Linked DNA regions of Homo sapiens: all the other regions are linked to region 3. Evidence: promoter capture Hi-C in human tissues and cell types (Jung and others, 2019). All regions are on one chromosome and are shown on one strand. Each heading gives the region's core, a stretch centred on a gene start or on the middle of the fragment in contact. The rest is flanking DNA. Distances are from core to core; before and after follow the strand shown.

Region 1 (5,096 bases), core at 2,504-5,003, 210 kb before region 3:
GCTAATTATCTGAACAATTTTCCAGTTGCTCAAAATAATATGTTGTGTCCATCTTCAGTGCTAGAGGAGAGGAGAGCAGGAGTTTTTCATAATAGTGATTTTTTAAAAAATCTTCTTGGATTTGGCTTTCTAGAAGATGTGGGGCTTATATTAGTCTGATAAAAACATACCTGAGACTGGGAAGAAAAAGAGGTTTAATTGGACTGACAGTTCCACATGGCTGGGGAGGCCTCAGAATCGTAGTGGGAGGTGAAAGGCACGTCTTACATGGTGGTGGCAAGAGAAAAAATGAGGAAGATGGAAAAGTGGAAAGCCCTGATAAAACCATCAGATCTTGTGAGACCCACCCACTACCATGAGAACAGTATGGGGGAAACCGCCCCCATGATTCAAATTATCTCCCACCTGGTCTCGCCCACAACACACGGAAATTATGGGAGTACAATTCAAGATGACATTTGGTGAGGACACAGCCAAACCATATCAGGGCTTATATTTGAATCTGATTGTTCTCAGTTCCCTTAGAAGATGCAATACTTGGGCTTAAATTTTTTAAAAGATCACGATTGAGTTCTTAGCTTCATCCCCGCCATCCAGGAGATGATGAGTTGGTGCCACTTCACTGCCCAGGCTGCCACCAAGGTCAACCCAGAGCAAAAGAAGCCGAGTCCTGGTGGAGATGAGTCCATAGCAACACAGGCCGGTGGGGGAATGCAAGGGTCATGTGAGTTATTTGTGGCCTGGGAAATAGAAAACACGAAGAATATCTGGGAGGATATCTGAGATTTCCATCTGCCCTGCGTCCATTTTCCCGTCTTCAAGTAATAGCACCTGGACTTCCTTTCTGGGACCCACCCTCCTCTACTCTTAGATAAGGTAGTTCCCTGGGGACTGACCCATCCCTGACTCTCAGGCAAAGGCTAAGAACTAGGCCTGGACCAATGAGATGTCACAGCCGCTAGTCCACACTGATTAATTTGAGACATGTGGCACATGACCCAAATCAGCCAGCCATAGTCACAAAGCAACTCCCCAGGGACTTTGGTTGAAATTCCTGGGACAATCTCTCCTCTGGTTGTAAGTCCAAGTCTTCCATCTTTGGGAGACTGCTTGAGAATAAACTAACACAGACAAAAGCAGAGCCAGGCAGTGTAGACTAACTCCTGACATCATTTTCTGAATATCTGGAACTATTAATAGCTTTTTGGAAAGCTAGATTTAGCTTTCCACTAAAACTTTCAATCACATAAGCCAACAAATTCATTTCTTCTTAGGCCAACCAGAGTCACATTTCTGTCAGTTGCAACTAAGAGACCCTTATCTGATTATCCACAGAACCTACAGAGCTTAGACAGAGGCCAGGCAGGCCAAAGACCAATGGCATTGTGGCAGTCATTGGTGATATTCACCAAATATCTCCAACTCTCCATTTTCCAAGCACATATTAGGATGGCCCTTCCCTGCTCCCTTTGAGGTTAGGTGTGGCCATGTGACTTGCTTTGGCAAATGAAATGAGATCAGAAGGGCATAGATCCCTTTCAGAGAAACGTCAGAGCAAATATTATTCAACATATTTCTCTTTTTTCTGCCTTTCTATCATGGAAGCATAGGAATGGAGCTTCTGTCAGCCAGGGTCTGTGAGATGGAGATGAGTCCATGCCCCCAACCAGAAAGCAGTGGACATGTAGAAGGACAGGGTGGAGAAGGGGACAAACAAATGAAAACAAAGTTTTTAATCCCTTGATATTTTGGGCTTGACTGTTACTGTAGCATAGCTTATCTGGTCCTGACTGATACAAACATCCAGCCATGGGATAAGCAGTAGCAGCCCAGAAAGAAACCAGGCAAGACGGTCCTCTTCTAGGTGATCTACCAGCTGTGTCTGCCTAAGGCGCCATAAGAGGGGAGAAATGGGAGAAGGATCTTGAAGATAAGCAGGACCCAGAGGGCCATTAGATAAGGCATGTGAACGTGCTGTTCGAAGAAGCAAATAAAGGAAAGGGTGGGAGGGAAGAATTGTATCTGTCAGTAGCCAGGCAACATTGGAAAATATCTGGGAGTAACAGCAGCCAAGAGATAACAGAATTGGAATTTGAAAGAAAATGAAAACGATCACACCCAGAGGAGAGATCTGAATAGACTAATGAAATATACTTGAAATGTACTGTGTGTATTGTTCTGTGAGTCAGAGTCCCAGCTCATCCACTCACATGTTGTGCTGGAGCACCATGAGTACTGGAGAAGGAACTGAAGAGACCGTAGTTCCAAGAGTGTGATTATTGGGATGATCCTGTCCTGCAGGGAGGTGGGGTCCTGGTTGGCTAAGAGAGTTCCAAAGACTATCAAGGCACAAAGTAATGTGTTTTCTTTTGTTTGGAGGAATTCTAAAATAGCTTTTTGTTTTACTTATCTGTTGCTGTACAGCAAATTATCCCCCAAATGTGGCTTAAAACAATGAATATATCTATTATGTTACCTTTCCTGTGGGACAGGAATTTAGGAGTAGATTGGCTGGGTGCTTCTAGCTCAGGGTCTCTCTTGAAGTTACAGACAACTTGTAGCCATCTGGGCTACAGTCCTCCAAACGCTTGATCGAGGTGGGGAGTCCACTTCCTAGACCATGGCTCACTCACATGGCTGCTAGCAGGAAGCCTCAGTCCTTGCCACGTGGGTCCTCTATAGAGCTGCCGGAGCATCCTCACACCACGGCAGCGGATTCCCCCAGAGCCAGTGATCCAAGAGAGAGCAAGGAGGAAGTCAGGATGCCTCTTACGACCCAGTCTCGAAGTTACAAACCTTCACTTATGTCATCTTCCTTTGTTAGAAACAATTTGCTAAGTCCAGCCCACAATCAAACGGAAAGGAATTAAGCTCCATCTCTTGAAGGGAGGAAAAGCAAAGAGGTTGTGGATGTATTCTTAAGCAATCACACTCATGCATGTCTTTTCTTAGTGTGGTAGACAGAATAATGGACTCCAAAGATGCCAACATCCTAATCCCCTAAACCTATGAATATGGTATCTCACATGGCAGAAGGTGTCTTTTGACACACCCTGAAGGTGTCAGTGAGTTCAGAAGCTCGAGATGGAGTCATTATGCTGGCTTACTTGGATGGGCTCAATATAATCACAAAAGCCCTCATAAGAGGGAGACCCTCATAAGACGGTCAGAGTCAGAGAAGGAGAAGTGACCACAAAAGCAGAGATGGGAGTGATATGAGGAAGAGCCCATCAGTCAAGGAATGCAGGCAGCCTCTAAAAGCTGGAAAGGCCGGGAATCAGAGCTTGCAGAAGGAATGCAGGGGTCAGAGGATAAATGTGTTTGTACGTGTGTGTGTGGTTTTTGTTTTGTTTTGTTTTGTTTTGTTTTTTTGTTTTTTTTGAGATGGAGTCTCACTCTGTCGCCCAGGCTGGAGTGCAGTGGCACAGTCTCGGCTCACTGCAAGGTCCACCTCCCGAGTTCACACCATTCTCCTGCCTCAGCCTCCCGAGTAGCTGGGACTACAGGTGTCCACCACCACGCCCGGCTAATTTTTTGTATTTTTAGTAGCGACAGGGTTTCACCGTGTCAGCCAGGATGGTCTTGATCTCCTGACATCGTGATCCGCCCGCCTTGGCCTCCCAAAGTGCTGGGCTTACAGGCGTGAGCCACCACACCCGGCCAAATGTGTGTTGTTTTTAAGCCATCGAACTTGCAGTAATTTGTTACAGCAGCAATTGAAAACAAAGACACTTAGCAAGTGTTTACTGAACACCTACTGCGTGATGAGCATACAAAACCACAGGGGATATAGAGGTGAACAAAAGAAACAAGAGGGAGGAAATAAACCAGCAAACATGTTCAGGTACAAAACAAATCGATGGCTGATCATTTTGATAAAGACAATCATACCAGGTGGTGTGAGTCAGCCACTGTGAGTGGGTGGGAAGCAGCTATTTGAGATGGGATGGTCAGAGGCAGACCCTCTGTGGGATGAACGGAGGCCTTGCAAATATCCCAGAAAGGAGTCCAGAAAGAGGAAGCAGCCAAGTGCAATGTTCCAGAGGCAAAAATGATCTTGTCTTATTCCAAGGAGAACAAACAGAGTGAACAGCGGGAGATGGGTGGGGGCCGGGCTGAGCAGAGTCAAGTGTCCTGGGGCACCCACACCCCATGCTGCTCAGGGCAATGGTGTGGGGATCCACGTGAAAATCCCTGCCACTGCTCTATGGATGACGATGATGAGGGCAGAGTGGACACTGGGAGGGGAGTCTAGAAACTGCTGCAAGAGCAGAGGCAAGAGATGAGAGGGTTAGATTGCAGGGGAGGGGGGCAGTCTGCAGAGTGTACAAGGGGACTTTTTGCCCCATTTTCAGCAATTCCCATGCATAGAGTCTGTTTCTTCAGAGGAAATAGTGCCAATTTTTTTTTTTTTTTTTTGCCAAGCAGTTGCATTTGTTTTGACACTTGACTTAATTACCACATTTCCGAAAGAAAAAAAAAAAAGAAAAGATAAAAACCACCATTTTTGGCGCTTTGTCCATAATAACAGTTCAGGATATATTTTTTGAGTGAGAGTGTGAATAGATGGATGATGTGGACACTATCTGGAAATATGGATCCCGTTGGCCAGATTTCTTGATGGAAACTATGGCTCTGACAGCATGGGTTTCAGAATGACAGGGTCAAAGGATTTGTCAACGATACCTGTGGCCAAGCATTCACGGATGCCGACCATGTGGCTTAAGGTATGAGTCATTGCAAAACATTCCAGTATTTTTTAAATTACATCACTTTAAAAACCAATTACATCAGTTACAAAGGGCATGTGCGTAGGATTTCTGCTTCTCTTTAGTATTTTTGTTCTTACTGGCAATGGTTTCTACTCCTGACTAGTGGCTTTAGAGAGCTGCATGAATTAATTCACTTCTTATAAAATAAAGCATATTTGTACTCAGAATCCTAAAGCCACATGGATTTCAGAAAACAATTTCTTTGGAGCTCCTAGAAAATGATGGAATCAATAATGTAACAGACATGGGAACTGACAGAAATGTTACTGTCCCACAAAGAGCTCCTTCTACTTAAGTATTTCTGTGGCAGCCCGTACACTTTAT
Region 2 (5,240 bases), core at 2,457-4,956, 240 kb before region 3:
CGTCTCCCAGATTCAAGCAATTCTCCTGCCTCAGCCTCCCGGGTAGCTGAGATTACAGGTGTGCACCACCATGCCTGGCTAATTTTTGTATTTTTAGTAGGTACAGGGTTTCACCATGTTGGCCAGGCTGGTCTTGAACTCCCGACCTCAGGTGATCTGCCCATCTTGGCCTCCCAAAGTGCTGGGATTACAGGCATGAGTCACCTTGCCGAAACCAGGAGCAAATCTTTCAGTGACCCTAACCCTCCCTCTAAGAAAGCAGCATTGATATGTGAATAAACTCATTCTAAGTCCTTCTCATTTATTCATGAATGCTGAGACATGGGCAGGGTCCTCCCTGCTCAACCCTGAACAGACAGTATGACTTGAAATAAGGGGAAGAGAGTGTTAACAAAACACCAGGGGTCTGTCTAGGTCCTGCTGCTTGCCACACAGAAGCCAATCACTGAGACAACAAGTATCACCAACTAAGAAGGCTTTAATCAGGTACTGCAGTTGAAGAGATGGAAGATCAGTTTCAAATCCATCTCTCTGACCCACTAAAACTAGAGGTTTATATAGCAGGGAAGAAATGTAACCATGCCTAAGAAACCAGGAACTAGAGAGGGGAAGGAAGCAATCATGGCAAATGAGAAGTGAGGCATCTTGTTGTCTGAATGCGGTGATCTGGTAAGTTTCAGTTCTTTGATACTTTTTTTTTTTTTTTTTTTGAGATGCCTGGGTGTCCTTTCCTGAGAAAGGAACTCAGATAAAACAAATGTAAGTTTCAAGCTACCACCAAAAGGGTCAATTCATATGTTTATCCAAAAAAATTATCTATGGGACTATTGGGTCAGTTTCCAGAAGCTGGCATTAATTTCAAGCCCTTTTATGCCAAAAACTCTTACTCACATTGTATCAGGGAACCTCCGTTTTTTGTCAGCTTCTTCTGAAAAATTAGATGATTCAATTAACCATGCTTCATTATTTTTCCGATTTAGAAAAATAATTCTTACATTATTGTTTGCTAAACTTTGGGTTTTATTTTGGGGCATATTCAGTAGCAGTGCTTTAACCAAGAGGATTTCATTATTAAAAGTCTATAACTCAACTTTAATTAGACCCTGCGGCTCTTTGCCTTAATGACTTATAATTAGTAAGTCATGGAATTGATGTTTTATCTGCTAAGGGCTCTGTCCAGGATGGAGAGACCCCTGGCCTGCAGCCTGACTTGTCCCGTTCCTTATCCAATTGCCATCTGAAGAGTTAAAATTCAAATGAATAAACCAGAAAATGAGAGAAAGGTTAAACTACATTTTATTGAGTTTTTAGAAATAATTTCTCTCTAATTGGCTAAACTATATTCCTCTGTTTATCATTTCAGGTAGGAGCTTTATTTCCTGGAAGTCCCCTGGCCCCAGTACCCACCCTGCCTCTCCACAGCCTCATGTACACAGGCCTGATCACCTGCTGCAAGCTCCGGCACAGGAGTATAACCCAGCTAACCTGAGTTTGCAGCTGTGCAGGGGAGATGCTCCTCCTCTCCCCAAAATCCACAGGAAACAACAAAACGAATGAAAATCTAAGAGGACAATTTCTCTTCCAGGGAAACTATTTAACGCGACAGTGCAGCCAGCTAAGCAGCTAGCCGTGGGACTCCAGGTTCACGGTGAAAGGATGGGTGGGATTTTCTCTTTCTTCAAATAAGTGGCTTCTGCTTTGTTTTCCCAGACTCCATGCTTCACTTAGGCTCCACGGTGGAGTCAAAATTCCAAAAGGTGCAGGTGATAGGGAAGGTTGCCCCACAGATGTAGGTGTCAGGATTGCTGTGCCAACAGAGGGAGGTGATCAGTGGATTACCCCCTGATGGGGCAGCTGGTAGGTAGGACAGGTTGCCCTAGAAAAGAAGGTGATCGGATGGGTCACCCTGATGTTGCAGGTGACAGGATAGGTTCCCCACCAAAATCAAGGGAGGAGTCTTTAGGGAGCAAGACTGTCATTCTAGAGGCAGCTGAACCAGGGCTGGGAGGAGACCGTGAGCTAGGCTCCCTTAACACAGGGATGGTGTGAGCCTGGCTAGGAGGCACTGTGCAGGGCCGACAGGACCTCAGATGGGGCAGCATGACCACCTGTGAGGCCATGAGACCAGTGAGTGTCCCTCTTTCATGCTGAAACATTGGAGAGGGAGGGACCACGGGTGGGGGATGGAAGGGTCTCACTCGGGTTCCTAGAGCAGATGAGCAGCTGCAGCCATCGCACAGCTAAAGACCACACTCACCACGGCATCCTGGAGCCAAGGACATTACAGTCAATGCTCAGATGAAGGGAAAGGAACCATGGCTTTTCCCCGTTGTTGTTCTGGGCACATGGCACTGGGCTCAGGGAAAGCAAGAAGCCTATTAATGCCATTAATGGCAGACACTTCTTGCCAGCCTTGACGAGTCGGTACTCAAAACTGAATTTAATTCGATTTAGAAAAAACAAGTGCACCTTGTCCCCTTTTATATAAGGAAATGACCCAAACTCCAAGCCATATAAAATGAAGACTATAAATATTTCACTGTAGAACCAACTTGTTTAAATGGATGTGCAAAGAAGAAAAAATTATGCTAAGTCTCCAGACCCACCTGGGCCTCTCAAAGGCAAGGCTTCCAAGGTCCATGTTTAATTGCTCCAGGTGGAGATGATTTCAGTTCCTCACAGTTCCAATCAGCTTCCATAGCATCTTCCATTCCACATGACCTGTTTTTTAAATTGTTTTCCAGTAGGTGAATTAGGGTACAAGGGGAATACATTTTCTGTCTTTGCTGCACTGAAAATGTAATAATTTTTTTTTTTTTTGACGGAGTCTCACTTTGTCACCAGGCTGGAGTGCAATGGCACGATCTCGGCTCACTGCAACCTCTGCCTCCTGGGTTCAAGCGATTCTCCTGCCTCACCCTCCTGAGTAGCTGGGACCACAGAGGCACCACACCCAGCTAATTTTTGTATTTTTAGTGGAGATGGGGTTTCATCATGTTGGCCAGAGTGGTCTCGGTCTCTTGACCTCATGATCCATCTGCCTTGGCCTCCCACAGTGCTGGGATTACAGGTGTGAGCCACCATGCTTGGCCAACAATGTTATAATTTTGACTTCACTTGATGGATAGTGTTGCTGGGTATAAATTTTCAGGTTCAAAGTAATTTTCTCTTAGAACTTTGGCATTATTCTTTATCTCATGATGCTGAGGAATCGGAAATAATCTGAATTTTATTTTAATCTCTTTATAGCTAACCTGTTCTTTCTCTCAGGAAGCTATTAAGATTTTTTAAAATTGGCCGGGCACAGTAGCTCATGCCTGTAATCCCAGCACTTTGGGAGGCAGAGGCGGGCAGATCACGAGGTCAGGAGATCAAGACCATTCTGGCTAACATGGTGAAACCCTGTCTGTACTAAAAATATAAAAAATTAGCTGGGTGTGGCCGCATGCACTTGTAGTCCCAGCTACTCGGGAGGCTGAGACAGGAAAATGGCGTGAACCCGGGAGGCAGAGGTTGCAGTGAGCTGAGATTGCGCCACTGTACTCCAGCCTGAGTGACAGAGCGAGACTCCGTCTCAAAAAAAAAAAAAAAGATGTTTAAAAATTATGCTCAGAGTTGTAAAATTTCAATAGCACATACCTAGGTATTGGTCTTCTTCTCTTCCTTTTTTCATTACTCTTTCTTGGTGCTTGGTGCTCCCCCCTCCCTTTTTTAAATAAAAAGTGGTATTTTTCCTAAGCTTAATACATTTTTCTTCTATTATTTTTTCCCTCCGTCATCTGCTTTTTCCTTCTGAGACTCCTGTTACAAGGATATCAGATGTCCACAGTATATTTCCATTTTTATGTATTCCAGGCATATTTCTACCAACCCTTTGTTTAAATATATCTAGTAAATCAAGATTCACTGCTTCTTGACAGTGTACTCACCACTGTGAAGCTCTATTTATTAAACATTTCTTTAAAATATTTATTTGCTGGGATTTGGGACTGGAATGGACAATAAATAACATTCTTTCTCTATTCCTCATTATTTACCAGAAATCCTCCTCCTAGTAACTTGTTGGTTCTAGTTCTATAATCAGAATTGCATAGAAGACCTCTCCACTTAAATTACTTTATACACAATATCCCTCTTTAATTGTTTTCAGGGCCCGCTGTGCCCCTGTTCTTCAGCTGTTCCTTGAATTCCACAGTTTGCACATCCATCCTCTTGGCACCTCCCCGGTCCCTCAGTTATTACTGTCTGCGGATGTACACCACATCTGCTGCTTGGCCCCACGTTCCGGGAAGTGATTCCACAGTTTCTCTAAGCCTGGACACTTAGTCCCTTTGCACAGAAAGATACCCTCTTTTTGTCCCTCCAGCTATTTCACATCAAAATTATGATTTTTTTATTCTTTTCCTCTTCCAATCTACAGACCATTGTTCTTGTTTAGGGAAACAGGAATTAGGAGCCTGGGGCTCTCCTCCCAGCTTTGCTATTGAATAGCTGGGTAATCTTAGGCAGTGCACTTACATTTTCTTGGCCTCGGTTTTCTGAATTAGTGTACTTCCCAGACACCAGTCCAGGGACTGGGGCCAGTAGCAAAAATGATTTTATGACTGCATAGCTAAATGAAAACCCTGGAGACAAGAATATGTGTGCATTAAAGAACTTACTCATGTGCCCAAATACCATCTGTTCCCCTAAAACCTATGGAAATAAAAAATAAAAATAAAGTGACAAACAACCTTAGACAGAACTCTCACCATTTTAAATCTGATTAAACTCTATGCCAAACAAGGAAGAAAAAAAAAAAGACTATGTGTGCATGTAATTAAAACTGCTAGTTTGTGGAAATTTCTATTCTTTATTCTGATATCATAACTTTCTAATGGGATTTTATGAGTGTATGTGTGAGAGAATACACACATTAATGAAATCATCATCATAATTATTTACAGTTTAATTTTTATCTTATATGAATAAGATATGAGTAAGGAAATATCTTTATATGAGAAAATTCGAAGTTGATGATTGTATTGTTGCCATCCACTTTATCTTGCTTGTTGTATTTAAGTGGTCTCTTAAATCCCAAAGTCCAATAGTCAATAAATTAGACTTTGTATAACAGTTTTCATATCTAAAACTACAGAATTATTTTACAATAACTACTAGGTGTCTAATATTCTTTTCTAAAGACATTTTCAGCAATGATTTCCAAAATCTTTGCATAAGTCCACATGAAAAACTCCTTC
Region 3 (4,999 bases), core at 122-2,621:
TCTGGGGAAAGCTCATATTCTGATGAAAGAAGGGCAAGCAGTTTATCCATTTAAAATCTATGGAAAGTTAAAGCACAGAAACCAGCAGCCTCCACTTTCTTTGCTAGGCGTGCCTAGCTGATGTCCACATTTTTCCTGGAATAAATAAAGGGACACTAAAAGCAGCATCTGCCTTTAAAAAAGAAAAGAACAAAGTTACCATGTTGAGACTTTGCAGACTGAAGTTTCAGGGGATGTCACTGCACCAAATACATTCAAAGGGCTGTAAACCATTTAAGGAGGCTCTCTCCCACTTTTGAAACACTAAGTAATCCTGTTGTGAGCAAAAGGAAAGAAAGAAAGAAAGAAAGAGGAAGAGAGAAAGAGAGACAGCCAGTCTGACTTTTACAACTTCTCATTCTCCCTGGAAGTTACAAGTCTTGGCTAACCACCCATCCCTGACCTCACTCCAAAGTTCTCTCAGTCACTCCTTGAATCTTTGCACATGCCAACAAAATTGAACAAAATCCACATTTTACCTGAAGAGTATATTTAAATTGCAAAATAGTAGATTTGTGTGTGTGCTTCCCCCAACCCCAATTGAAGTTGGACTTAACACCTTCTAAGAGAACAATACTCAAATTAGATTAGCAAGCGTGCCATCAAGAGAAGAGAAGACCGGGCTGTGTTTAACATTCACGTTTATAGCTTCCGGACTTACAGACTCTGGTAAATCCCCCAAAGTACTGAATTCAAATACATCTTGGACTCACAAAGATTCTCAGCAGTTTTCTGCTCCATTTAAGGATGCCTCTTAATAAAGTGTTCATCATTCTGGAATTACGTATTTACTGCCAATTTTATCTGTTTCCAAACTGATATACTAGAAGCAAAACAGGTAAACAGTGGGTGCCAAGCTAATCCCCATGCCAAATTGGTCAGGCAGAATGGATAGTCTGTGTTCTTGCAAAGTTCCCCTGCTTACTGGAGCTTAAATAGCCACACAGCAAATAAACACCAGATTCCTAAATACACATGGAAATTTCCTTCTGCAAGTGACTTAAGAAAACTGCCCTTTGCTTTCTGAAGAGAAAGGTGAAGCCCTCCGAATTAGCAAAAGCACTTTGCAATGCAGCTGCGTGCAGCCTGGGTTTTCAGAAACCAGACCCGCAGACTCAAAAGCACCCATCTGAGCGATTTTAAAGAAGGCCTTTGAAAAGACCACTTGGCTTAAGAGCAGAAGCCGTGCCTTCTTTCCGAGCAGAGCTGCTGCCCGAGCACCGTTTCCTTACCTCCGGGCTGGCTGGGCTGGCTGGGCTGGCTGGGCTCGCTCGCCTTCCTGGCTGTGCTGTGCGCTGGCTCCCTTAGTGCTGAGCACTTTGCAACAACTGTGAGCTCTGCTGGCTGCAGACTTGCATTATATACACTGCAGAAAGGAGCCTCTAGCCTCTAGATGGCAGCTTTGTAACCCACATCTCTCTCTCCCCCGTGCCACCCCCATCCCACAGGCAGACACACACACACACACACCCCCCTCTTGTAAACCTCACTAGTCTGTTGTTTCCTGCACAAGTGTACTCTTGGGAAACCCCAGCCTTCTTTCATTTGCAAAATCTGGTGAAGCCACAAAGTCCAAACCCCACGGGGGGAAAACGTCAGCCAAAGACAAACTGCAAAGAAACCCTAGTGCTTGGCAAAATCATCAAATATTTATCTGGTCTCAGGTATATCTTGAATAATCCCATTAACACCAAGAGCTCCTGTGAATGCCTCTTCGCTCTAGGGAGGACTTTGTTCCCAAGACAAATTACTCTGAACTTCTGAACTTCGATGTTGATTTACTAAGCCTGGGTTTTCCTTGTTAATTCCTCCAAAACAGAAGTAACAGTTTTGGTATGACCAATGAATCGATGCCACACCGTATATCCCCAAAGTGGAGAAAAGAGTCTTTATAATAGATTATACTTGAATACTTTTATTTGTAAAGGACTTTAAGTACAAAATCCTTGAGACTCTAATCAAGATAGTATTCTACAGTGTCTGCCCAGTGCCAGACACGCATTAGGAAGATAATAAATGCCTTTTGATAATGTCTTTTTCTGAGATGAGTCTGGCAAACACTTTACTACAATTATTGCAATCTACATTCTTATTTGGATGCGTATTGCTAAAGTTCCCCCCACGGAGGAATTCAACCTAAAAATGTGATCCAGGTGATACTCATCTCCAATGCCCCATTTACAAAAATCGTCCATAAGATAGGGACCCAAAGGCCACCCGCCAGCCCATCCCATGTGCAATGCTCTGGCTTTCGTATTGCTTTCTGATCTCCTGGAGTTCTTAAAGAGCGGCTCAAGTGGAGTGTATGAAGGCACCAGCTGTATTCACGCCTTCTCCAGAGCTAAAACTTTTCGAGATTCTTTTTATACTTCTACTAAAAATAACAGCAGACGCTCGGTCCCAGCGCTGAATCTGGGGGACTGGGAGGTCAAAGTCTCACGTGGCTAGAAAGTCTCCGTGTGGAGAAAGCCCTTAACGAAAGAAATATTTTGTTTAGCTAAAAGCTTCACATTTTTCTCCTGAACTGGCTGCCCAGCGGGAGGCGAGGTGCACACCTGCTCTCCGGGGGCCTCCGGAGGGGTCGCCCTGGGGCCGGCCTTTCCCAGCCCGAGCGCAGCGTCCCGCCACCGCCTCTGCAGGGCGGCGCAATCACTCTTCGTGTCACATCGGCACCAAGGACATCTCCAGGCTCCCCAGAGACGCTGGAAAGGAAAACTGCCAGCGGCTGCGTCTACCCACACCCAAGATCTAGGCGAGACCTCGACTCTCCACAGCATACGTGTCCTGACTTTTTCTGTCCTGTTTCTTTCTTGTGGGGGACCCTGTGTCTGAGCCCGCTGGAAATGTACGGGGATCCCCTCTGGACTGCAGCTCGGTTTCCGCTTTCTGTGGCTGTAGCCGTGACTCCGGGGCCTGTCCTTCAGAGAACGCGCTCCGCATTGCAGAGCCTGCGCGCCCGGTGGAAACACAGAGTGGGTGTCAATCCGTTCTGAGCTAAGTGTACTGTCGCTGGAAGAAAGGCCACATGGGCCGGGGACCCCGGACAGGATGCTAACGTAGAGGAAGGAAAAGGCAACGCAGTTTTTTTAAAAAGTAGAACCCGCTTCGTGCGTCCGGGGCCAGAATCCACGAGGCCGCCTTGCAGCAGCCTGCGCCCTGCCCCGCCAGCCCCGGCCCCGCGCCCACCCACGGCCTGCACCCAGCCCCGCACCCACACACGGCCTCGCGCCCTCCCACAGCCCCGCGCCCTGCCCCGCACCCACCCACGGCCCGCACCCACGCCCTTCCCCGCGCCCAGACTTGTTCCGCACTCACGCACGGCCGGGCACCCGGCCCAGGCGCCTGCGAGAATTCTGGCCCCGGGGTCACCGCCCTCGCCCTTCGACGTCCCCCACCCGTCCCCTAGTTCCGCCGGGCGGGGCTGCTGGAGGCTTCCAGACGGGGAGGGGCGGACCAAGCGCCAGCGGGGAATGGGGCGGGGTGGGTCGGGAACTCTGGCCAGGCTCCCACCCTGGGAGGAGGAGCTGGGTGCTTGGGGCCTGAACTTGGCTGTCTCCTTGGGCCTCCCACCCTGTCCCAGAAAACAGGCCTGGGGGAAAACGAGAGGGTAAGCAAGCAGGGCTTTTTGAGAAAACGAGATTCCATTGCCCTAGGACCTAAAAGTCTCTTTTCAAAGTTTTGAAGAGTGTCTCTGCTTTTGGAAGATTGTGCTTTCAGTGTAAGGGCAGAACTCCACCTCCATCCTCTAGGGGTCCCGGCTGGGTCCGAGAATTAAATTGACATAAGATAGATGAATAGGAGGAAAGCATAGTGCAAGTTTCACGCGGCATGGGAGCCCTCATACAGAAATGCAGACCCGGCCGGGCGCGGTGGCTCAGGCCTGTAATCCCAGCACTTTGGGAGGCCGAGGCGGGCGGATCGCGAGGTCGGGAGTTCGAGACCAGCCAGGCCAACATGGTGAAACCCCATCTCTACTAAAAAATACAAAAAATTAGCCCAGCGCGGTGGCGCGCGTCTGTAATCCCAGCTACTCGGGAGGCAGGAGAATCGCTTGAACCCGGGAGGCGGAGGTTGTAGTGAGCCGGGATTGCACCATTGCAATCCAGCCTGGGTGACAGAGTGAGACTCTGTCAAAAGAAAAAGAAGGGAAGGGGGAAGGAAGGAAGGAAGGTAGGAAGGAAGGAAAGAAGGAAGGAAGGAAGGAAGGCAGGCAGGCAGGCAGGCAAATCCTCCTTGGGGAAAGAAAGAAAGAGGGAGAGACAGAGAGAGAAAGGAAGAAAAGACAGAGAGAGAAAGAAAGAAAAGAAAGAAAGAAAGAGGAAAGAGATGACGACCCGAACAAAGAAAGCAAGAAAGAAAGCAACAGAGAAAGGCAGGCCCTAGCAAAGAAAAGGAAGGAAGGAAGGAAGGAAGGAAGGAAGGAAGGAAGGAAGGAAGGGAAGGAAAGGAAGGAAAGAGGGACAGACCCGAGCAAGCAGTTCGCGTCCACTACTTAAATACTGGATTAAACAGAGAAGAATAAACTTTGAAAATGTGACTAAAAAGATTAGAGTGACGCTCTGCAGTATTCTTTAGCTGGCAGCTTCTAGTCCTAAGGATAAGGATGCTGTCTTCCTTCTGCTATGGGGAGAGTGATCTTGCACCTGCTGTTTTTCAAGTGCCTTTCACTGAAACAGTTACCATGCCAGAATGCATATTTTAACCTTTTCAGTAAGGTCCAATATAATGGTTCTTTTGGGTGGGAATGTGTTTGGTGGCACCTAATAGAAAACTCAGAGAAGGCACGAACAGGACGCTGTCCCTACCGCTGTCCCAGCTGACCCAGAACTAAAAGTTCCTGGATGTTTTGCTACCCCTGAGTGCTTATTGGAAAGGGGTCAGGAAGGGGTTTCAGCTAAGCTCCTCCCTCCTTCCCTGTCTGTAATCTGCACCTGGGGTTGCACGCCCCACAGGGCAGGTG
Region 4 (4,804 bases), core at 1,122-3,621, 190 kb before region 3:
AATTCATAGAGACAGAAAGTCGAATGGTGGGTTCTAAGGGCTGGGGGAGGGAGAATAGGTACAGAGTGGGGAGGAAGATGAAATGGGTACAGAATGGGAAGATGAAAATGTTCTGGAGATAAATGGTGGTGACGCTGGCTCAATAATATGTATGTGCTAATGCCACTGAACTGGACACTTAAAAATGATTAAAATGGCAAATTTTGAGTTACGTGTATTTTACTACAATTTTCAAAAATTTTGGTGGGTTAAATTCAAGTAACGAATGTAAGAACAGTTTTGCTTTTGTACCAAGAAACAAAAGGAGTCACTAATCCATCCAAGGGTAATTGCTGTGTTTACGATCTCTGTTTCCCTCCCTCTTCTTTGCTGGGCTTTGTAGCATGTTGTTAAGGAGGTCTCTGATATTCCTTTGTTCCATGAACCAATTACCAGTGTTCACAGGAGAAAAGAAGCCCAGCTGCTATGATACCGCCTTAAGATGGACAGAGGGCTTCTAACATCAAAAGTGATGCCTAGTATTCTTGGCAGTGTTTATTTACTAACCTGCCTTGATGGTCCTGAGTCCCTGAATGGCAGCCCCAAACACCCACGTGTCTGGATAGTCCCACACTGGGGCAGAGTACTGTGAGCCTAATATTTACCTGTGAACCACATGGGTCAAGTTTCTCTTGCTTTTTTAAGTGCAAAACTGTTATAAAACTGGTCTTAGTCTTTTCATAAGACACACATTGAATAGAAAAGTTGACTAATTTTTTATTTCAAAACCTGGTTTATTCTATGCTAGGGTGGTCCTCATCACTCCGTTCTCTGATCCTGTTTATCAAGTTTTGCCTTTAAATGCCCTTCAAAGACTATTTATGGGAGTGGGTTTAAGGCTTTGAAGATTGTTTGTTCTTTCAAGAGATAGACACATTTAAAACCCCTGTCACTGGACCCAACTGATGTGGTCACATGGCTCAGTCCAGGGAGGGTGGGATTTGTCCAGCTAAATGGGAAATATGACAGAGATTAAACTCACTGTAAACAAGAGGGATTAAGAGCCCAGAGCTGGGGGGCAGGGTGGGATCAAATGGCTTTGGTTGTCAGAGAATAAAGGCTCCTCAGGAAGTTAAAGAAATGCCTTTGCAGAGCCCAGTGCTGTCATCTTAGGCTATGCTCATAAAATCAGCCATCATGTACTTAATGGAACCATAAAACAGACAAAGGGCACAGGCAAGAGCGTCTGCACTTCCAAAGCCAGAAAGAGCCAACGTTGAGGGCCAGCTCAGCCAACATCTCTAGACGCTTTAAGCTGGACACTCAATGAGCTGCCTGTCACTTTTTGGCAATAAAGGCCCACTAGAGAGTATGTGCAGCATCATGATCACTTCTGGAACTGGCTCTCAAGCACCTGAGGGTGTTTTTCTGGAAAGAAAACTTTAGGAAGAGGGTCTTTCCCAGTTGATTTTCTCAGCATGCATCTTCAATCACATACTAGCAGGTACAGATGTACCCACTACCACAATCTCTCCAGCACGAGGCTTTTTCATGGTGGGGTTAGGAGGTTGCAGGTACAGAGAGAGGGTCTGCACACAGCCAGCTGAGGGCTACACCTTGTAGGGCCAGGTATCTAGATCCTATGGCTGTGTGCAGAGAGTTCAGCCCAGGCCTGAGACCTCTCTGCCTAGCTGGCCAGGAAGCTTGTGGTCTCCTGTCTCCTTTTGAAAATAACAAAGACCAAAACAAACAAACAAACAAAACAGAGAACACCTCCACTAACACCTGGGTGCATAAACTTGCCAGTTTCAACATGAACAGGGAAAAGGAAACTGGCAAGTTTATGCACGAAGGCATCCCACGCCTTTGCTCCAGCTTTGTGCCTGGGAGCTGCTATGGCAGGGATGGCAAGGGAAAAGGTGCAGGAGTAAGGGAGATGGGCCAAGCCCTGGGAATTGGCTCTTGTGACTTGGAGGGCAGAGTCACTTAGCAACATAACCCTGGAGGTAAGAGCAGGCATTTTTTATGGATTTCCTAGCCTCATTGCAGAGGGAAATGGAGAAGCAGAGAAGGAAAGCAGAGGCTTAAGGTGTCTGAAAGGCACCTGTCAGGAACATCTGGAGGTCCCTGAACAAGGTCTGGAATAATCTGGGAGATCGCATGGGAAAGGGGTGCCGATATGACCAACATCAACCATCCCCACCTTTCCAACATCACAGATGGACACGTACACACACTGCAGCATCTGTTGCTTGCTGCAATTCACTCAGCAACCCTAAATTCGAACAATTCAAAGCAACCCCGAAGTCCCTAAACTGGGGAATAGATAGCTGTTATGTTGCAGCCACTCAGCTGTTATGTTGCTCGAGCTTTTGGGTTGAGCAGGGCATGTGCCACCTGAGTATCTGACATCCAGGGGCACAGGAATTGCACAGCAAAAGTCAGCTCCCTGTAACCTATGTGCCCTAAGTCTGCTACTTCAGATCAGAGAAGGCAAATGGAAGGCTTATGCAGTTAAAGGGAAAACTCTGCCCCTTAAGCACCTTTGCTAGGCCCAAAGCCTGACAAAGTGTGGTCTGTTGTCATCCCGCTTCTGAGAAGACAAATGCTGCACGTGGAAACCATATGTGGTTTGCAAAGAGTCCACCCATGTTATTTATTGTACATGATAGATGCTAGGACACTGCATCTGAAATTTAAGAAGAAACACCAATGACCACATCGCTAAATTCATATTTTCTAAAGAAGGGTGCACGAGGCACACACATTTTCCAACACCATTAGGAGCTCCGGGGCTGCCGCTAGTGGAGTGATTTGTGCAGCCTGCCTGGGCTGTCATCTCACCCAGTGAGTGATGAGACCCAATTTTTCCAACAGAAGGGACAGGCAGAGTAAGACAAAGAACACTATGTAAAATCATTAAAAATCAGAAACTCTTAAAATTATACTCTTTTTTACTGTTAAGCTTTACTGACATGCATATGAAAATTTAGAAAAATTGATGGAGTTTTAGGTGCTCTGATGCATAAAAATCAGCTGATTGTGTCAGGATACACTTAGCAAATGGGATTCACATGCTGGCTTTCATTTGCTTTATTCTGTGAAAAATGCACACGAAAATTTTCTATCACCTGCTCCCTGTGAAATTAAGGCTTTTCTCTTAAAAATGTGGCCAAGAACTTGGGAATCTTGTCCTTGTGGGAACAGTGCACAACCACATCCAGAAGGCAGCAAACCACTTTGCTGAATTTTCTTTACAAATGTCCAGTGAGGTAAACTGTTTTCAATGTGTTTCTCAAGACTTACAAGTACTGTATTCTATTTACTGCAGATATTCGAAACACATGGAAAGCAAGAAGAAAGATAGTTAAGGGGCAAAAAAATTAAATCTCCTGACGCAAAACAAACCTTTATTCGCTTATTCCCAAATTGAAACCACAGTTATGTTTAGAAGATGAAAAAGAAAAGAATAAACTTTGCCATCTCTGTGGCGTCTCCTAGTTAGAATTGCCGTGATATTGATGAGGGGCTCACTTTGCTGAGGCATGTGAGGCCCTGAGGGTGTGAAATGTGAGGAGGTGCTGCCTTGTGGGCTCTGCACATTGGCACCTACCCACCACAATGTCAGCATGAACCCAGGGAGCACAGGGACAATGCCAGGTGTCCTGGGGACAGTCGGCAGCATCCCAGTGACTTCCCCTCATACTCTTGGGGCCAGAAGGGAGGGAAGACCTTAAAGGGACAAATGGGGCCTGCCCTTCCAATCCTACATCTGAACCCTTATATGATTATGATTTAAAAAAATATGAAACGCATCCTCCCCTGCTTTTATCTCAGGCCTCCAGGATGTTGGGGAGCTACAGTGATGGGGGTTTTGTGGAGTCATCATCCTATGTCTCAGCAGGTGACGTCATTAGGCAGGGACCCAGCCATCCCGGAATCCAGGATTCTGGTCAACTTTATTGCTACTGCCCAGGGCAGTCACTCATCACTCTCTGTCTCCACGAAAGTTGCTCCACCCCTGACAACAAGCCTCTTCTCCATAAATCACCAATCCACCACACCCTCCGTGAATGAAAGGAGTTGAGAGCAGCCACCAGACACCAGTGCCTTCACCAACCCTCCACACATAGGACCCTCACCCACATCATCCTTCCACCCAGGACAGATTTCCACCGTCTCTAAAGCCGGCCTCTCTCTCTGGATCCTGGATTCCATCTCTTCCCAACACTCCAGGCTGGAATTCATTCCTACAAATGTTTCACCAACCACTACCACTGCCAATATGCCTTCAAACACACACTTCACACCAGCAATTTATCTTTTATTCAAACTCATATTCCAAAATATGATAAAAGTAATGCATGGACATGGTAAAAATATTTCACTCAGTACAGGAAGATGTTAAATGAAGAGAAAAAGTTATTCCTCCATTCCCCCTGCTCCCCACCCCACAGTGCAGAGACAACCTCTGTAAGCATTTCCGTTTGAGTTCTTCCTGGGGCTGTCATTACAGCACTGAACAATATACTTACACATCTGTGTCCAAGCTCATCACCCATGCCTGGTAGGCCTTGGCACTTCCTTCTCTTCTGAGAGATGAAAGGCACATTGCAAGTATGCTTCATCCCTCCACCTGCCCTAGATTTTGTTTTGTTTAGCATCTTTAGTGTTTCTCCTATTCACCCTCTGCACCTCTAAATTATATGCTTCAGATAGGAGTTCTCAGCCTTGATTGATAACCTGAGTGACACATGAAGAATTTTTAAAATACAGAGAAAAGTCCTTCCCTCCTCAGACCAGCTAAACATCCCTGGCATCTGTA
Region 5 (4,862 bases), core at 1,445-3,944, 140 kb before region 3:
AGCAGGAAACTGCCCATGGCCCAGCTCAAATAGTTGGGCAGGAGGAGTTCCTGCTTACTCAGCCTTTGGTTCTAGCCAGGTCTTCAGCTGCTGGGTGGAGGCCTACCCACAAGGGAGGGTCATCCACTTTCCTCATTCTGCTGACTCAAATGTGGCTCTCACCCAGAAACGCCCTACAGATACACCCAGAATAATGTTTGCCCAAATATCTAGTTACCCCATGGCTCAGTCAAGTTAACACATAAAATTACCCATCACACTGACCACTGGAACACAAGTGATTAGGAATGAGGGTAAATACATGTGTGCAAGTGTGTGCACATGGGAATGTGTGCATGGGTATGTGTTCGTGTGCATGGGCATGGCCAGGGAGCAGTCCCTTGACCCCCAGGACTTGCTTCAGCAGGGGCAGTTAATTGTCAGGTTGACCAGATGGTCATACTGGGATGTTCGTGTATCTTCTGTCCAGGACAACCTTGCTCAAGGAGGGAACTAACACTTTTGCTCTGACCTGTAAGTGTCAACTAACACTAATAAGCAAATGGACCCATTGGGCCTGGCATCCTTGGGAAGCTCTACATTGTGAACTGATGCCCAATTCAGCTGGGGAACTGGGCTTCACGGCAGCAGCAACCGAGCACAGCAAAATCAAAAGGTAATTATCAGGCCAGTCACAATGGCTCACGCCTGTAATCCCAGCACTTTGGAGGCTGAGGTGGGTGGATCATCTGAGGTCAGAAGTTCGAGACTAGCCTGGCCAACATGATGAAACCCCGTATCTACCAAAAATACAAAAAAAATTTAGCTAGAAGTGGTGGCAGGCGCCTGTAGTCCCAGCTACTCAGGAGGCTGAGGCAGAAGAATCACTCGAACCCGGGAGGTGGATGTTGTACTGAGCTAAGATGGTGCCACTGCACTCTAGCCTGGGTGAAAGAGCAAGACTCCATCTCAAAAAAAAAATAAATAAATAAAGGCAATCATAACCCTGCCCTGTGTACAGCTAATCTGCTTTGAGCTAAATTATTGAACTAGAATATCACTACCAAAAAGGACAGCAATTAATTGTAGAAAGTGTTAATAGAAAACATTTGAGAATAGTTTGTTTATTTACAGGACGAACACTTTCTAAAAAGAAATGGCTTATGGTAAAAATATAATATAATCAAGAACTTCATGATATGACCATGTTTCCATTATATCTGAATGTCACCTAAAACTTTTACTAAGATTATTTCATTCATTTAGCAAATATTTATTAAGAACTACTAGAAATCAAGAAAAGCAAGCCTAAAGCTGAGTATTAGGGACTGTTATGTCAAATATGTAATTTTAAAAAATATATAAATCAGGCCAGGCTCAGTGGCTCACTCCTGTAATCCCAGCACTTTGGGAGGCCGAGGCGGGCGGACCACTTGAGGTCAGGAGTTCGGGACCAACCTGGCCAACTTAGCAAAAGCCCATCTCTACTAAAAAAAAAAAAAATACAAAAATTAGCCGGGCGTGGTGGCGGGCACCTGTAATCCCAGCTACTCGGGAGGCTGAGGCAGGAGAATCACTTGAACCAGGGAGGCAGAGATTGCAGTGAGCTGAGATCAAGCCACTGCACTCCAGCCTGGGTGACAGAGAAAGACTCTGTCTCAGAAAAACAAACAGACAAACATAAACTTGTCCTCTCACTGGTTTGTTCATAATCTTCAGTGGCTCTCTCTTATCTCTCAGGAAAGGTACTGTATTAGTTTATTCTCGCATTGCTATAAAGAAACACCCGAGGCTGGGTAATCTATACAGAGAAGAGGTTTCATTGGCTCACAGTTCTGCAGGCTGTACAGGACCCATGGTGCCTGCACCTCCTCAGCCTCTGGGGAAGCTTCAGGAAAACTCACAATCATAGGAAAGGCAAAGGGGGAACTGCAGCTCACACGGCAAAAGCAGGGGCAAGGCAGGCAGGTGCTACACACTTTCAAACAACCAGACAGCACAGTAACTCACTCACTGTCACCGAGAACAGCACCGAGATGGCGCTAAACCATTCATGAAGGACCCGCACCCATGATCCCATCACCTCCCACCGGCCCTACCTCCACCACTGAGGATTACAATTCAACATGAGACTTGGGCGGGGACACAAATCCAAACCATATCCAACTCTCTCCTGTGGTCCCTGAGGCCCATAGGGTCCCACCGATGTCCCCTCTTTCACCATGCCCCAGCCACCTTGTCCTATTTCTCCACAGCTGGGATTTTGGAACTTTTTCTCTAGAAGACCACTCAGTAAATATTTGAGGATACGTGTTTCGTAAGTCTCCATCACAACTATTCAGCTCTGCCATTGTACCACAAAAATATCCACAAACATTTGGGTGTGGCTGTGTTCCAGTCAAACTTTGCTTGTAAAAACAGAGAGTGGCCAGATTTGGCCCGCCAGCCATAGTGAGCTGACCTGCTCTTCCGACTCCAGGCCTGGTCCACACTCCGCCTGCCGCTGAGGTAGCCTCTTCCTTCTTGCCTGGCTAACACTTGCTCTTCCGTTGGGTTTCAGTAAATATTCCTGTCCCGGAGAGCTCTTCCTGGAGACTTTAGAATGGATTCTGTCTTTTAAAACAATTATCCCAGCTGTAATTCAAGAAAGAGAATGTATGTGTGTGTGCATGTGTGCATGTGTGTGTGTGTGCATGCGCGTGTGTGCCTGTGTGTGTGCATGTGTGTGTGTGTGTGTGATAGTTCAATGTCTGCCTCTCCATGAGTCACCAGGGAAAGCCAGCTTCACTCCCCATACTATTCTCAGCGTGGCACCTGGTGGAGGCTCAATTTATATCTGTCGATCAAATTGATAACTCGATGGAGTCATTTGATTAGAAAACTGAGTGGCTGCGTAAAAGCTAGGCCAAGTTTGCCTCCTTGATCTGACCAAGCCTAATAAATGGAAGTATGAGTCGATCCTTCTGTGGCTTCTCCTCAGCTCCCCTCCCCAGGCGAGGCGATGGGATCGAGGCCATTGGTGGTGCCTTCCTGTCCCTTGAGTGAGCTCTCTGTGGAGCACGCCAGCAGCTTTTTCCAGGTCAACGTTCCCCTCACCAGCCCTGGGGCTTGGTGTGAGTTATTGAGCTTCTCTGATCTTCCATTTGCTCTTCTGTAAAAGCGAGAACCACGCTCATCTCATGGGTCTGTTGTGAGGATTAACGCGTCGACCTTCAGGGCCTCAGGATTGTTGGTGTGAAAAGTACATTGCGTCCCATGATTTAATACATCAGATTTTCCTCTGTGTGGAAAATCTATGGTAGGCCCTGGAAGACCCAAGAAGGAAAAAGCCAAGAACGCCACTGACATTTCAGATGAAGAAGGGGAATCAGCGAATAATGATTTTCTCTGTAAAGATCTCTTTAATTACAGCTGGGATAACTGTTCTAAAAGACAGAATCCGTTCTAAAGACTCAGGAACGAGCTCCCTGGGAAACGAATATTTACTGAAACCTAATGGAAGAGCAGATGTTAGCCAGGCAAGAAGAAAGAGGCTACCTTAGTGGCAGGCGGAGCGTGGACCAGGCTGGTGTTGGAAGAGCAGGTCAGCTCACTATGGCTGGCGGGCCAAATCTGGCCCACTGGCTGTTTTTGTAAATAAGGTTTTACTGGAACACAGCCACACCCAAATGTCTGTGGATGTTTTTGTGGTATGATGGCAGAGCTGAATAGTTGTGATGGAGACTTTACGGAGCACTTAGCAAAAAATGTTTACTGTATGCTCTTTTAGAGAAAAAACATTTAAAAACCAGCTTATTTCTCCCTTCTTAGCAACATCAGATCTAGCTAAAATATTTTTCAGGAAAAATATAGGCAGAATTTGATATAAAATATATTTTCATATCTATCACAGCTATATTTATAATAGAGAAAAATTAGAAATAATCTGTGTCTCAAGTCAGGGAACAGAGTATGTAGATCATGATGCATTCAGGAAACAGGCCAGGAAAACAGGCCAGGCAAGGTGGCTCACACCTGTAATCCCAGCACTTTGGGAGGCAGAGGTGGGTGGATCATTTGGGGTCAGGAGTTCGAGACCAGCCTGGCCAACATGGCGAAACCCTGACTCTACTAAAAATACAAAAATCAGCCGGGCGTGGTGGTGCATGCCTGTAGTCCCAGCTACTCGGGAGACTGAGGAAGGAGACTCACTTGAACCCAGGAGGCAGAGGTTGCAGTGAGCTGAGATCACATACTGCATTCCAGCCTGGGTGACAGAGCAAGACCCTGCTCAAAACAAACAAACAAACAAACAAAAAACAAAACAAAACAGGAAAACACTTGTGTTCTAATGTTAAACAACAACCAAAGCAGGTTAAAAATTACCTACATAGGGATTTCATTTATATAAGAAAAAATGTATTTAAAAACACAGATTGTAATAAAATATTAAACATGTCTTCTTCTTGTTAGTGATATGATGGCTGATGTGTGTATGTGTGCATGTATGTATGTGTGTATGTGTATGCATGTGTGTATGTGTGCATGTGTGTATGTGCATGTGTGCATGTGTGTGTGCATGTGTGTATGTGTATGTGTGTGCATGTGTGTGCATGTGTATGCATGTGTGTATGTGTATGCATGTGTGTATGTGTGCATGTGTGTATGTATGTGTGTGCATGTGTGCATGTGTGCATGTGTGAGTATGTGTGCATGTGTGCATGTGTGCATGTGTGTATGTGTGCCATTGTGTATGTGTATGTGTGTATGTGTATACATGTTTGTATGTGTGCATGTGTGCATGTGTATACATGTGTGTATGTGTGCATGTGTGTATGTGTGTGTGTGCATGCATGTGTGCATATGTGTATGTGTGCATGTGTATGTGTATGTGTGCATGTGTA

Evidence for each region. The method cuts DNA at HindIII sites, captures the fragments that hold promoters and counts their contacts. A contact is called where the count stands out against the background at its distance.
Region 1: a contact is called between a fragment that was not itself captured here and the fragment with the promoter of ACKR3 in region 3, in 1 of the 25 tissues and cell types used here (stomach).
Region 2: a fragment that was not itself captured here is called in contact with the fragment with the promoter of ACKR3 in region 3 in 1 of the 25 tissues and cell types used here (liver).
Region 4: a fragment that was not itself captured here is called in contact with the fragment with the promoter of ACKR3 in region 3 in 1 of the 25 tissues and cell types used here (bladder).
Region 5: a contact is called between a fragment that was not itself captured here and the fragment with the promoter of ACKR3 in region 3, in 1 of the 25 tissues and cell types used here (bladder).

The regions. Positions count from the first base shown.
Region 1 is chr2:236,782,807-236,787,902 of GRCh38, reverse strand. No RefSeq gene overlaps it. Among named protein-coding and RNA genes, the nearest start is that of ACKR3, 220 kb to the right of the region's middle. The HindIII fragment of the contact is 7,217 bases long and covers 145-5,096 here.
Region 2 is chr2:236,805,311-236,810,550 of GRCh38, reverse strand. It overlaps LOC107986002 (a long non-coding RNA gene), which reads right to left. Exons shown (of 3, transcript XR_001739954.1): 2 at 2,607-2,721; 3 at 1,796-1,876. Among named protein-coding and RNA genes, the nearest start is that of ACKR3, 240 kb to the right of the region's middle. The HindIII fragment of the contact is 9,709 bases long and covers 1-5,240 here.
Region 3 is chr2:236,566,197-236,571,195 of GRCh38, reverse strand. ACKR3 (atypical chemokine receptor 3) reads right to left here and starts at 1,371. Exons shown (of 2, transcript NM_020311.3): 1 at 1,272-1,371. RefSeq lists enhancers at 2,135-3,010, 3,011-3,886 and a silencer at 3,312-3,361. The HindIII fragment of the contact is 7,550 bases long and covers 1-4,999 here.
Region 4 is chr2:236,761,962-236,766,765 of GRCh38, reverse strand. No RefSeq gene overlaps it. Among named protein-coding and RNA genes, the nearest start is that of ACKR3, 190 kb to the right of the region's middle. The HindIII fragment of the contact is 3,834 bases long and covers 455-4,288 here.
Region 5 is chr2:236,706,872-236,711,733 of GRCh38, reverse strand. No RefSeq gene overlaps it. Among named protein-coding and RNA genes, the nearest start is that of ACKR3, 140 kb to the right of the region's middle. The HindIII fragment of the contact is 6,573 bases long and covers 1-4,862 here.